Regions from separate parts of the Homo sapiens genome. Here all the other regions are linked to region 1. The links are contacts of gene promoters, found by promoter capture Hi-C in blood cells and fetal thymus (Javierre and others, 2016). All regions are on one chromosome and are shown on one strand. Each heading gives the region's core, a stretch centred on a gene start or on the middle of the fragment in contact. The rest is flanking DNA. Distances are from core to core; before and after follow the strand shown. Region 1 holds the start of ERCC8 (ERCC excision repair 8, CSA ubiquitin ligase complex subunit). Region 2 overlaps LINC03122 (long intergenic non-protein coding RNA 3122). Region 3 overlaps ZSWIM6 (zinc finger SWIM-type containing 6).

The links. The method cuts DNA at HindIII sites, captures the fragments that hold promoters and counts their contacts. A CHiCAGO score of 5 or more calls a contact.
Region 2: a fragment that was not itself captured here is called in contact with the fragment with the promoter of ERCC8 in region 1 in 10 of 17 cell types (naive CD4 T cells, total CD4 T cells, activated CD4 T cells and 7 more); the score reaches 13.2 in naive CD4 T cells.
Region 3: a contact is called between a fragment that was not itself captured here and the fragment with the promoter of ERCC8 in region 1, in 1 of 17 cell types (activated CD4 T cells). The highest score is 5.1, in activated CD4 T cells.

The regions. Positions count from the first base shown.
Region 1 is chr5:60,943,382-60,947,217 of GRCh38, forward strand. It overlaps ERCC8 (ERCC excision repair 8, CSA ubiquitin ligase complex subunit), which reads right to left and starts at 1,689. Exons shown (of 12, transcript NM_000082.4): 1 at 1,551-1,689. The coding sequence starts at 1,627. It overlaps NDUFAF2 (NADH:ubiquinone oxidoreductase complex assembly factor 2), which reads left to right and starts at 1,824. Exons shown (of 4, transcript NM_174889.5): 1 at 1,824-2,001. The coding sequence starts at 1,875. RefSeq lists an enhancer at 2,460-2,589. The HindIII fragment of the contact is 6,619 bases long and covers 1,488-3,836 here.
Region 2 is chr5:61,654,390-61,658,225 of GRCh38, forward strand. The region is part of intron 1 of LINC03122 (long intergenic non-protein coding RNA 3122); the gene reads left to right. Among named protein-coding and RNA genes, the nearest start is that of LINC03122, 19 kb to the left of the region's middle. The HindIII fragment of the contact is 4,377 bases long and covers 1-3,836 here.
Region 3 is chr5:61,534,976-61,538,811 of GRCh38, forward strand. ZSWIM6 (zinc finger SWIM-type containing 6) reads left to right here. Exons shown (of 14, transcript NM_020928.2): 10 at 509-644. Among named protein-coding and RNA genes, the nearest start is that of LINC03122, 100 kb to the right of the region's middle. The HindIII fragment of the contact is 1,317 bases long and covers 1,576-2,892 here.

The DNA.
Region 1 (3,836 bases), core at 439-2,938:
TGAGAAATAGCATAAAAGTTTGCTACTAGCTTTTCAGTTCACAAATCATTACATAAATAACATATGAATCAAAATTGACCAATTTGCAATTTTACTTCTTTCAAAGTCTATGGGTGATTGGTCACTGTGCATCTGTTATTCAGTTCACACACAGGCTGCAAAGCATGGAGGTTTGTTATTAATATTTCTGTGCCCTTGAGATAAACCCACATGGAATTTTACAGATTAAAAGAGGAAATTGGCCAAAAGAATGAAAGTGCACTAAAGAAGAGTGATAATACTAGAAGTGAAACTTGCATTAAACATAAATGGAGCAAATGAAAAAAAAGCTGCCTGTGGGAACATGCTGATTGTGGCAACAATGACACTGCCGCCATTTGAGACATTCTAGATATGCAGACTGAGGAAATCAGTGAAGGTGAACTTATAGACATAAATGAGGAAAAGTGATTGTGATGAAAGGCTGATGATGTGTCAGAGGAAGTGACACTGGCAAAAAAAACACATTAAAGGAACTCTCAGAGATATTTCACAACATTGAAAACGTAATGGATAAAATGTTGGAAACTAATATTTAAATTTCTCCAGAACGCAGAACTCATAAGCAACTGTGTTCTCCAAGTAAATATCTTCACAGGTTCCTCAATTAATGTGGGCAAAATTAAAAGTACAACTTGCTTCTTCCCTTTGGAAAACCCTCTCTCAGAGTATATTACCAACATTCAACTTCTTATACAAGGCATAGATCTGGGAATCATTATTCATTCTTCTCTTTTTGTCATTCACGTATCCACTCAATTTCCATGGCCTGTTGATTCTATTTCTCAGACGTTGTTCAAATCTCTCCACTATCTTTATTCTACTTGGCAACTCTGTGGCCCAGGCTTCCAACAACTCTCTCCCGGACAAGTGTAATCACAACAGTTACCTAACTTGGCTCCCACTCTTGTTCTCAGTTGCAACCCATTCTCCAAGCAGAAAACAAAATGCAATAGCTGTTACCTTATTCTCATCTTCACACCTCTACTCAAGTACACAAGGCTCTTCCTCATCTAGTTTCTGTCTACTTCATCTCTTGTCAATGGTCCCTACCCCAATTCTCCGCTCTAGTCATTCTGAACTTTGTTCAATTCCTGGCCTGTGTCCTCTGCCTTTAATAGGCTGCCTGGCACACTGTAGGAATTCACTAAATATGCAGACTGAATGAATGAACGAGTCCGTGGAGGGCAGTTATTCTTTGGAGTAACTTAAGAGAGAAGGAATACAGTACAACGAAGTATTCTTATTTAGGTTTATAGTGTCTTCACCTGAGCCCGCGGGGGAACCCCCCCCCCACCCCCGGGGAACCCCCCCCACCCCCGCCGCCCCCCGCCTGCAAGTTGTTACCAGTAAATAAAAGGGATCCTATTTTAGCAAGCCACACAGCATTAGAGGGCAAATAATAGTTTGGTGGCAGGAGAGCGATGAGACGGGAAAGTGTGGGGCAAAGCTTACAGTCATTGGTCCAGATTCTAACTGGCCTGTTAGCCAAAAAGTAAGGTTTTCTTTACCTCCGTGTTGACTCTGCTCTCCGAAGGCGAAGAGGGTCCTCCAAACCCGTTTGGCGTGCGGACAAAAACCCCAGCATATCGTGTCCTCACACCGGCTGGAGCACTGGACGTCGCCATGACAGAGCTCAGGGGCGGGACTGGAACAGCAGAGTCTCCCATTGGTCAGTCGGTGATATATCCGGCCAATGGTGAGCGCCGTTACTAGAAGGGCTCCAGGATGGAGGCCGACCTGACTTCTCCGCCTCGGTGGGCTGGGTCGGCGGCTGGAGCATTACCCCTACTGCGGGTCCCGCTGCTGGCAGCGCTGGAAACTGGGTGGACGGCATGGGTTGGTCTCAGGATTTGTTCCGCGCCTTGTGGAGATCGCTGTCAAGGGAAGTGAAGGAGCACGTGGGCACGGACCAATTCGGGAACAAATACTACTACATCCCGCAGTACAAGAACTGGAGAGGTGAGGTGGCGGCGTGGGCAGCGATTGCGTGGTCAGTGATTGCGAGGTCAGTAAAGGAGGGAAAAGTGAGAGCCCCTAGTCAACTAACGCATCATGCGACACTTAGGGTGTCACCGGAGAGAATTTCCCGAGTTCGTTCTCCCCTGTCGACCCCTTCACTCTGGCATCGGAGCCCTACCCGGCCCGGCTCTGGGCGCCTTGGCCCGGCCTCGTGCGTCCGCGGTCCCTACTACCCAGCGCCTTCCCCCGGCGTGCCCCGGGCTGCTTGCGCTGTTAAGGCGCACCACCACTTTCCTCCCAGCCACGCCTGTAGAGGAGCCTCAGTTTTAGCCCTGGACTGGCGACGGAGGCAGGGAAAAGTCCACGGAAATCTTTCACCAAAGGGGCTAGAAGGGCCAGGGGAGGGGTTTTTCGTACGCTGTTCCCCGCCTTGTGACCCAGAGCTGAGTGGTGTAATTGAAGAGGAGTATCTTCAGCGCCTCGGCTGTCTTCTTTCTTGGTGTTTACCCTTTTCGGTGGCACCCTGGCTCCGGCGCTGGCCCCATGCGCCTTCCTTACTACCAAGACTTGTCAGAAGTAGGTCCATATCCCCACAAGGCTCGCTGATTCCTTTCTCGGGAGTTGACATTCCAAGACCCCGTTGAGCTCAATTTAAGAAACGTGGCAATAATCATGGTGTTACTGTGTAGGATTCGTGCCAAGTAGTTGAGCGGGTTGTTTGGGGAGTAAGGAGGCGTTGCTGTCCATTGAAATCACACTGTGTAGCCGCCGTCGTAACCTCTTCTGTGTTGTTCCATCGCCGCATGCAGAAAATGTCAGGTTTTGGGCGAAGAGGCGTGGGTTAGAATCTCAGCTTTGACACCTGATAGCTCGGGAATCACGGAAAAAGTACTTGTCCTCTCCAAGTCTCAACATCCTCACTTGAAAGTTAGAGATAATATAAGATCAGCAATGTTGAGAAGCACTAAGACCTTTCCAAGATTATGTGCCATTCATTTCCCACACATATAAAATGTATTCTGTGATTTATCACTCAATTAATTTATTTTTGCCTGGCCTTTTTCTGTAACTTATTTTAATATTTAGACTTGTTTCCCTAATGAGCTCCTCTGTCAGGCAGGGAATATGTCTCACAAAAAAAGAAAAAAGCCTGCAAAGAACATAGCATGGTGTTAAGTATTTCTTGACAGGTTGCAAGCAGAGAGATGTTTCTTTTCCATAAGTTGTCAGTAAAATTAAAAATATGCAAACTGTCAGACTGAGTTTTTTTAAATTGAAATATAATTTACATACAGTAACATTCACCCTTTATGGTGTACAGTTTTATTGTTTTTGACAAATGAGTAGAGTAACCTCACTGGATTCAAGTAATAGAATAATTCCATCACCATCAGAATTTCCTCCAACTCCTTAGTAGTTCATTCCCACACCCTTTGGCAACTACTGATGTGTTTTATGGGCCTATAGTTTTGTCTTTTCTAGAATATCATATAAATGGAATTATACAGGATTTAGACTTTTGAGTCTGGCTTGCTTCACATAGCATAATGTAGCTGAGATTCATCCATGTGTCAGTAGTTGTTCCTTTTTATTGCTCAGTAGTATTCCATTGTATGGGTTTGCCAGTTTATCTGTTCACAAGCTGAAGGACATTAGGATGTTTCCAGTTTCTGTGATTGTGACAAAAGCTCTACAAACATTCCCATACAGGATTTGTGTGAACGTAAGTTTTCATATCTCTTGGGTAAATATCTAGTAGTGGGATTACTAAGTTGTGTGATCAATGTGTGTTTAACTTTATGAGAAACTACCAAACTGTTTTTCAAAGTGGCTGT
Region 2 (3,836 bases), core at 404-2,903, 710 kb after region 1:
CATGAGCAGGAGAGGCCAGGTCAGGAAGGGTTTTTGTATGACTCATTGGCCTGTTGTACCTTTTTTTTTTTTTTTAAGACAGAGTCTTGCTCTGTCACCCAGGTTGGAGTGCGGTGGTGCGATTTTGGCTCACTGCAACCTCCGCCTCCTGGGTTCAAGCAATTCTCTTGTCTCAGCCTCCTGAGTAGCTAGGACTCCAGGCGCCCGCCACCATGCCTGGCTAAGTTTTGTATTTTTAGTAGAGATGGGGTTTCACCATTTTGGTCAGGCTGGTCTTGAACTCCTGACCTCAGATGATCCACCTGCCTCGGTCTCCCAAAGTGGTGGGATTACAGGCGTGAGCCACCATGCCTGGGCTGGCCTGTTGTATCTTATGCTCATCGCAGCCTTCCCCCTGCCCTGGTCCTCAGGCATCCCTGCAGGCTTTTGCTCAGCTAGCTGCTGAGTCATGTGGTCTGTGAAGACTGGAGAGCTGCAGGAGAAAAGAAGCCCTGAGAGTCCTCACCTTCTCTTTCTGCTTTGGCAGCATCACCAGCTGTGGCTGGGTCTTTTTTCTGGACTCCAGCTCCTGTCGAGAGACCCCTGTTATGATTTTGGCTCCCCCGGACAGCCCTGGCTCCTGGGCTTTGGTGACATCACCTCTTTCCTTTGACCCTCAGGCCTCATTCCTGGCTTGCTGCTGGTGCTGATCTTTGGATTGCCTTACCATTGCCCTTGTCATTTCACCTCTTTCTCCACCTTTGCAACAACTCCCCTGTATTAAATTTCCCCTTCAGCTCTTTTGTTAATGGGGCCCTGGCAGATTTAGCCTGAAATGCTGCTCTGAGGAGTCTGGGTTTCATGCTTTCTGGTAGTTGATTTGACATCAGGAGAGGCTTTTGAGAAGGACGTGATATGATCAAATGGAGCAAATGGGTGTTTGATATTGGGGGTTTCATGGATGCCCTAGAAAATTTGTAAATAGCCTTTAAGTGTCTATGAGCATGCCACAGTTGTCTGAAATTTTATGCATATGTGCAGAAGTGACTTTTTTGTGTGTGTGGGAAGAGATCCTATAGCTTTCATCAGATTCTCTGTGGGATTTTAGAATATCCTAAGAACTACTGGACTAGAAGTAGGATCAGTTAGCAATGCAAATCACTCAATGCATCAGAGTCCCAGCAGGAAACAGAACTCACTGGAGATGGTTCTGCTGGAGACTTTAAAGAAGGGGCTACTTCAGAAGTGTGGGCAGAGGTAGGTGGACAAACAAGAGATGGGAGGCACCCCAAGTTTAGCACCAGTGGGGAGCTGGTATCCCCAAGGATGAAGGGCCAAGGGGAGGAAACTGAGGGACTGGGGCCCATGATAGTTGGAGCCCTGGAGGAAGAGCCTCTCGGTGGAAGCAGGAGTGCTGGAGGGACACAGTCTTCTTCTGAGATGGGGAGTCCAAGCAGGGGACAAGGACACAGTGTAGCTTCTCTCTTCCCACTTGACTGGCCATTAGTGCCTCCCCTCGTCTCTAATACAGTTGGAAGCCAGCAGCCAAGGGTGTTTGGGTGATGTGGTCTGTGGGGTCAAAGTGGGGGAGAGAATGCAGTAAATGGGTAGATTCGGACAGAGCAGGGTAGACGGAGAAAAACCAACATTCACAGAAAATACGTTACTTAGGACTTCCAGCATTGTGCAAGAAGGAAATTGACAGAAGTCATGTTTGGTAGTTGCCGGCATCATTCCTCACGTTCTGACTTCTGGATTCTGCTTTTCATCAGTCCCTTCTGCACTAACTTGCCCAGCCTAGTAAAGTCATATAAAGAGAAGCAAAATTCAGAGGATTCTTTTGTTGTTGTTGTTAACCTTTTCCTTCCACTGCTACTTACAAGCTCTCTGACGTTGGAAGTCACAAAAATGTCTCTGAGCCTCATTCATCAAGTATGGAAGAGGTTGGGTTTGATGTTTTGCATTGTGCCTTCTGGCTTGAAGGTTTTATGATGCTTTAAGAGGGTCTTTGGCTTCCTCCTTATGAAAGGCATGTAGTGCTCTGGCCCCTTCTAAAGGGGTGAGCCGCCTTCCCTTGCCCGTTGTCGCCTGCAATGGTTTGAAGGCTGGAAGAGAGCACAACAGCAGTACCCCAGTCCTCCAAGGAACAGACCGCAGCAGGTTATTAGCATTTTATCGACTTTGGCTCTGCTGTTGATTGTCAGGATCTGTAGTGAAATACTTTAATATACATTTGAGTCTAAGTGTTACCCAGGCCGAAGGAGCACTAATTTTGAAGATATGTTTGCATTATAGCCTGTGTTCTAGAGAGACCCAATATAAAGAAACACACCCAGCAACTCTGCTTACTCGGCTGGTGGAGGGAATTGAGGATTGTTGCTGAAGGGAACTCACTTTTGTATGCATTTCAGAGATTTAATTTTATTAGCCAATGCAAATGATCTGTTCCACAAATGTAAAACAAAAGGACAAGAAAATGATCCCTGTGTCAACATCAGGATGTCTGACTTAAAATCCCATTCGAATAACTCCCTAAAAATGATCAGACACTGAATACATTATTTTTCTGACTTTGACAAAACTAGTCTGCACAAAGAAGCAGCCCCATGAGGTTACGGATAAACCAACCACCTTAAAACTTCAGCATTTTCATGTCAGTCACAGATTTTCTTAAGGGCCAACTCACTGTTTAAGGACTAATGTGTTTGGAGAGGGAAAAAAACCACACTGTGTTATTAAGCAGAATCCCCTTTACATACAGGGATCGGATCAGTTTGCCCGGATTGTGTTGCCTGCTTTATTGTCCTACTTCAAACACGGGGCCCTGGGCATCATCTCGAGGAAGGGCTGATTGAACTGTCGGCCTGACACTTGTCAGCTGTGGATAATACGGGCTTCAGTCCGTCATGCTCACACATAAATGAACCATGACAGAGATAGACTGTTGAATAGAAAAAGCAGTTTTACTGTGGATAACCTTTCTTGAATAAATGCAACAAATAATAAAGTCTGAAAAGGGGGAACATGTACCTTAGGAAAGCAGTGACGTTCAGAACCAAACGGTTATTATCTTTTTGGGCCATCAAAAATTGCCCATTTATCCAAGTACATTATTGAGAGAAAAGCTAAAAGTGCTATGATTATCATAAAAATGATGGCAGTTGAATCTATGCAGTCTTCAATATTATATCACATAACAAAACCTAGTTACAGCTCACCAGGATTGAAAAAGGAGGCATTGTTTGTGTACCAAATGGAATCCACAATTGTTCTTAGAAAATGGTGGCACACATCTTAATTAAAAGAGCAGAAAAAGAATCTAAAGCTCTTCTTTATGTCTTTAAAACACTTCTCCTTTTTTATTAAAAGAAGAAAAAAACAGAACTCCCAGTAGAAATTGTGGAAACTCTACATTTCAATCAAGACAGTCAAAAGAATGATTTGAATTTACAGGCCTGTAATTGGAACAAATTGGAAACAAAAGAAGAGCTCGTTTAAGCCACGTGATGTGGCCACAGTGCTGCCGTGTACAGTATGTTAGAAAAAAAAATCATGTTTCTTTAAAGCAAAGCTAACTCCACTGCAGGCTCTGAGCAATTTGCATAAATGTCTCTACCATGATTTTTTTTTTATTTATGGGCCCTAAGTTTCTAATTAAATACTAATTAATACTATCACCAGAATTGTCTCCCATCCCCAGCTCTTCATAGCTTTGTCACTTTGATTAATGCACAGTCATTTATTAACTTATTTAACAAGCCGGGGTGCCTCATGACAAACTAGATTAAATTATCCTCATAACAGTCTCATTACTGGAAAAAGGGAGTTTTAAACTTAATAAAAATTATCCTCAATAA
Region 3 (3,836 bases), core at 984-3,483, 590 kb after region 1:
AGAGCTGTGGTTCAGAATCCTCCCACACCTCTCACCCCTGATACAGAGCACCATTTTCTGGAAACCTGGCATATTTGTGTCCCTAACCCTTCTTAGGTCCAGGGGTAGTTTCCATAGTTAAGCTGTGGTGTCATCTGTGCATTTACAAATCAAGATGCTCTGATGCCACACATTGAGAGAGGATGTTGCTCAAATGCAGCAAGGTTTTACGCTATAGAGGGTTCCTTTCTCTGAGGCACTTGTATTGTGAATGCTGTCTGCCCCTGAGTTCTGGGTTTTTCATCTAGCTGTGGGACAGTTAGGGGTTTGTTTATGAGGTGAAATCTGTAACGGATGCTATACCCTGAAGAATCTTTTTTGATTAAGGATTATATTCCTTTCTATATCATTTACTTGAAATTCTTATTTGTATATGTTATAACTTTATGTGACATTTTAACAATATGCTTTACAAGAAGTGTTAGTTCATTTTTTAGGAACGTAAAATGTGTATGCTCTCTTCCCACAGCCGGACCATATAGTGGTTTAGGTGAAATAATCCATCGGGAGAGCGTTCCAATGCACACATTTGCCAAGTATCTCTTCACCTCTCTCCTACCTCACGATGCTGAATTGGCATACAAAATTGCACTGAGAGCAATGCGGTATGTATTCACAGCCCAGCTGGGCAGAGGCAGGCCACATTCCCACTGGGAAGCATGGCTGTTAACTGACTTACTCCTTCATGTTTCTTATAGGCAGCAGAAAAGCTAAAGAAACTATGTATTTATGCTTCCTGTATTGTTGTGGAGGTGATTTGCTTGTTGGCTTGTTTTGCTTCTGTTTAAAGTAAGGGAAGGGTTATCCTTGCTGCTATCAGACTCAAGCACACCGTGGCTTTTTCCTACTTTTTCGTGAAGCACAATTCAAGCCAAGTTTAATCATAAAACAGCAACAGTTGAAACCTTCATAAATGATTAATTGTTTTGAAAAAATTGATTTTTGAAGCAGTAGTAAATAGTAAATATACTGGCTTGAATATAATTGAGGGAGACCTTCACACCTGCTGTAATTCCGCATTCCATCAGTAGTGCAGGAAAGCAACTCCCTGTATTGCCAAGGCACATCTGTATTCACTGGAGGCTGAGAGAAGGTGGGACGTGCATTTAGCAGTGAAGGAGTCGCTATTCGGGGTCCTTCAGGCTCTGCCTGCCTCTCTTCTGACTGCTTCCATCTCCTCATCGGTCTCTCCTTTTCAGCAATAACAGTTAGAATATGTTGTTCTCTACCACCCACCTTTTTATTTCTACCTTCTTTTAAAAGTTATTTCACATAATAATTATTTTTATCACAGATTTGTTCAAGGTGAATATTTTAATGAGTTCAAGATTATATTTTAATCTTACAAATAACCTTTAAATTTTAAGGACCTAAAAGGTACATCCATCTTTCTTAAAACATCAGCATTTTCTTTTTCCTTTAAAAAAATTAATAAAACACTCCTGTGCTTCTAATGGAAAGTACAGATCACCTAAGGACAAGCCATGTTGTAGACCTAAAAGCTTGTGTGTGCTGATTAACAGTTTGATCTCAAGAAGCTTTTCATCAAAGATTCTATGTCTGTAATCAGAGAAGTAGATTCTAAAACAAATCCTTGCCTATAAATTACCAGTGTCCCCAAAGTTACCCTGTTCTGAAAGTATTGAGTGTAGCTTATGTGTATAAGGACACCTCTTTTTTATGCAGTGATAAGGATGTGTGTATGTGTCTGTGTGTATACCTATGTGTCAGTGTGTTTTAAGGCTGACATCCTGTAATTTGACATGCTTTCCTTGGCAATATGGAATCTTACTAACCTGCTGGAGAATCTTCTTAAGTATTCTTTTTTCTATTTTTAAAATACCAGAAAATAAGTCAATAACAAACATCAGCAAAAGTCCCCCACCAAATTACATTATACCACTTGGTTTATGTTTTAGAGCACGATTTTAAAATAAGTGGGTTCCTATTTTTATTTTTGGAAGCTGAAATGGAAGCTGTCTTATGAAGACATATGCTCAACTCTATACTTACTCAAATCTTAGGAATTCTAATCTTGTTTTAAAGGGAAGATGTTAATGTTATGGTGCCACCAGATGCTGTTGCTACTACCACTGGCAAAGTTTAAGGGTAAAATAGCATAAAGTTTCTGTGTGGTTCTGGCTTATGTAATGGTATGTGCCAGGCAGAAAGGCTTGCTTTTCTAACACTCACAAACTCATTTATATTTGTCCTTGGTTGCTGCCAAGGCAGTTTCTTAATGGGGAATACTAGCAGGGTACAGGGGAATTTTTTTTCCACTTTCTCTCTTCTATCTGCCACTACTATCCTGCCAAAGGTCTGCCATGGAAGGCAGGTATGTGCCCCACCAGGTATTGCAAGGCAGCCCAGGGAACAGGAAGGAAAAGAGAGATGTAGCTCGCATGCTTCTTAGTCCTTCTGGAAGAGGAAGGCTAAGGAAGGTCATCTTCAGCACTCATTTTCTCATCTTCCCAGGGATGTTGATTAGTTTCTTCTACAGTAAGTCTGGCAAGACCTGCCTGTGAATACGAGGATATTCTGAGTTAAAAAAAAAAAAGCTAAATAGCAACCCTGCCATTATTCTTACTACTTAACTGCCTACCTTGCCACCTTCTCTACTGCTGACATCTTTTTGTTCCTAAATAAAAGGAGAAGAGAATGAGCCATTTGGCTTACCAGGCAATAATTGCTCTTGGGTGGGGCCTTGAGGCCAGCATCACTCCCAGACCCAGCTGACTCTTCTTGGTCTCCAGCTCTTATCTTATTTCATAGTTCTTAACACTGGTGTACTTGACTGAAGGCCGGCATTTTGATGGTTGTAAATAAATTATTTCAGCTTTAGGTACTCTACTAAGCTTTTTGGTACTTTTAGAAGAGATTACTAAATATTTGCTTTGCTTTTAGAAATTTTTTCATCAGCATATTCTTTTTTTATTTGTTTTGAGACAGGGTTTTGCTCTGTTGCCCTGGCTGGAGTGCGGTGTGGTGTAATCATGGCTCCCAGGCTCAGCTGATCCTCCCATCTCAGCCTTCCAAGTAGCTGGGATTACAGGCACATGCCACCACACCCAACTGATTTATATTTTGTAGAAACAGGGTTTCGCCATGACAGTATATTCTTAATAAAAAATCAGAAATCACTCTGAATTTATGCAAAACTGTCAAGGGACAGACACTTAGGTCACATTTATCTTCTGTAATATGGTTGGTAGAACATAGTCTAATGTCAAATTCCTGGAGTCATAAGAAACTAATTGTTCAGAAAGTATGAATGGATGGAAAAGAGGTAATTTTTGTCTTACTTCCCTTCTTGTTTTATGTTTAAATAGGTTAAGCTTATTCATCTTAAGTACTCACTGCTTCCTGACTGTGATCTCAGTCTTAAATATCCATTTCACTATCAGTTTCTGTTGATTTATTTTTTGAGTCATAGAATTCAAAATTTGTAGGTAAACATCAAGACCTGTGTTTAAAAGTTCTTCGGTGTTTGCGTATCTTAATTTATTTGAATATTGTAATTTTCTGAATGGTGCTAAAGAAAGAAAATCTCTTAGGTTTGGGTGATGAACAACTAACAAGGTTTGGGTGATGAACAGTTATTATTAGCAAACAATTAGTAGTCCAAAAAATCTAGGTATTTTGCACCCACACAGCAGAGTATAGCTGTACCAGCCCTTGCTGAACTTGAGTAGAGGCCTGAACATCTACCCACTCCTCTGGCTTCTGTTGGCCAGTCTTTCTGGCCAAGGACATGGTCAAGAAATAACTAGGGGCCACCTTCCTTGTCTTCTCATTAT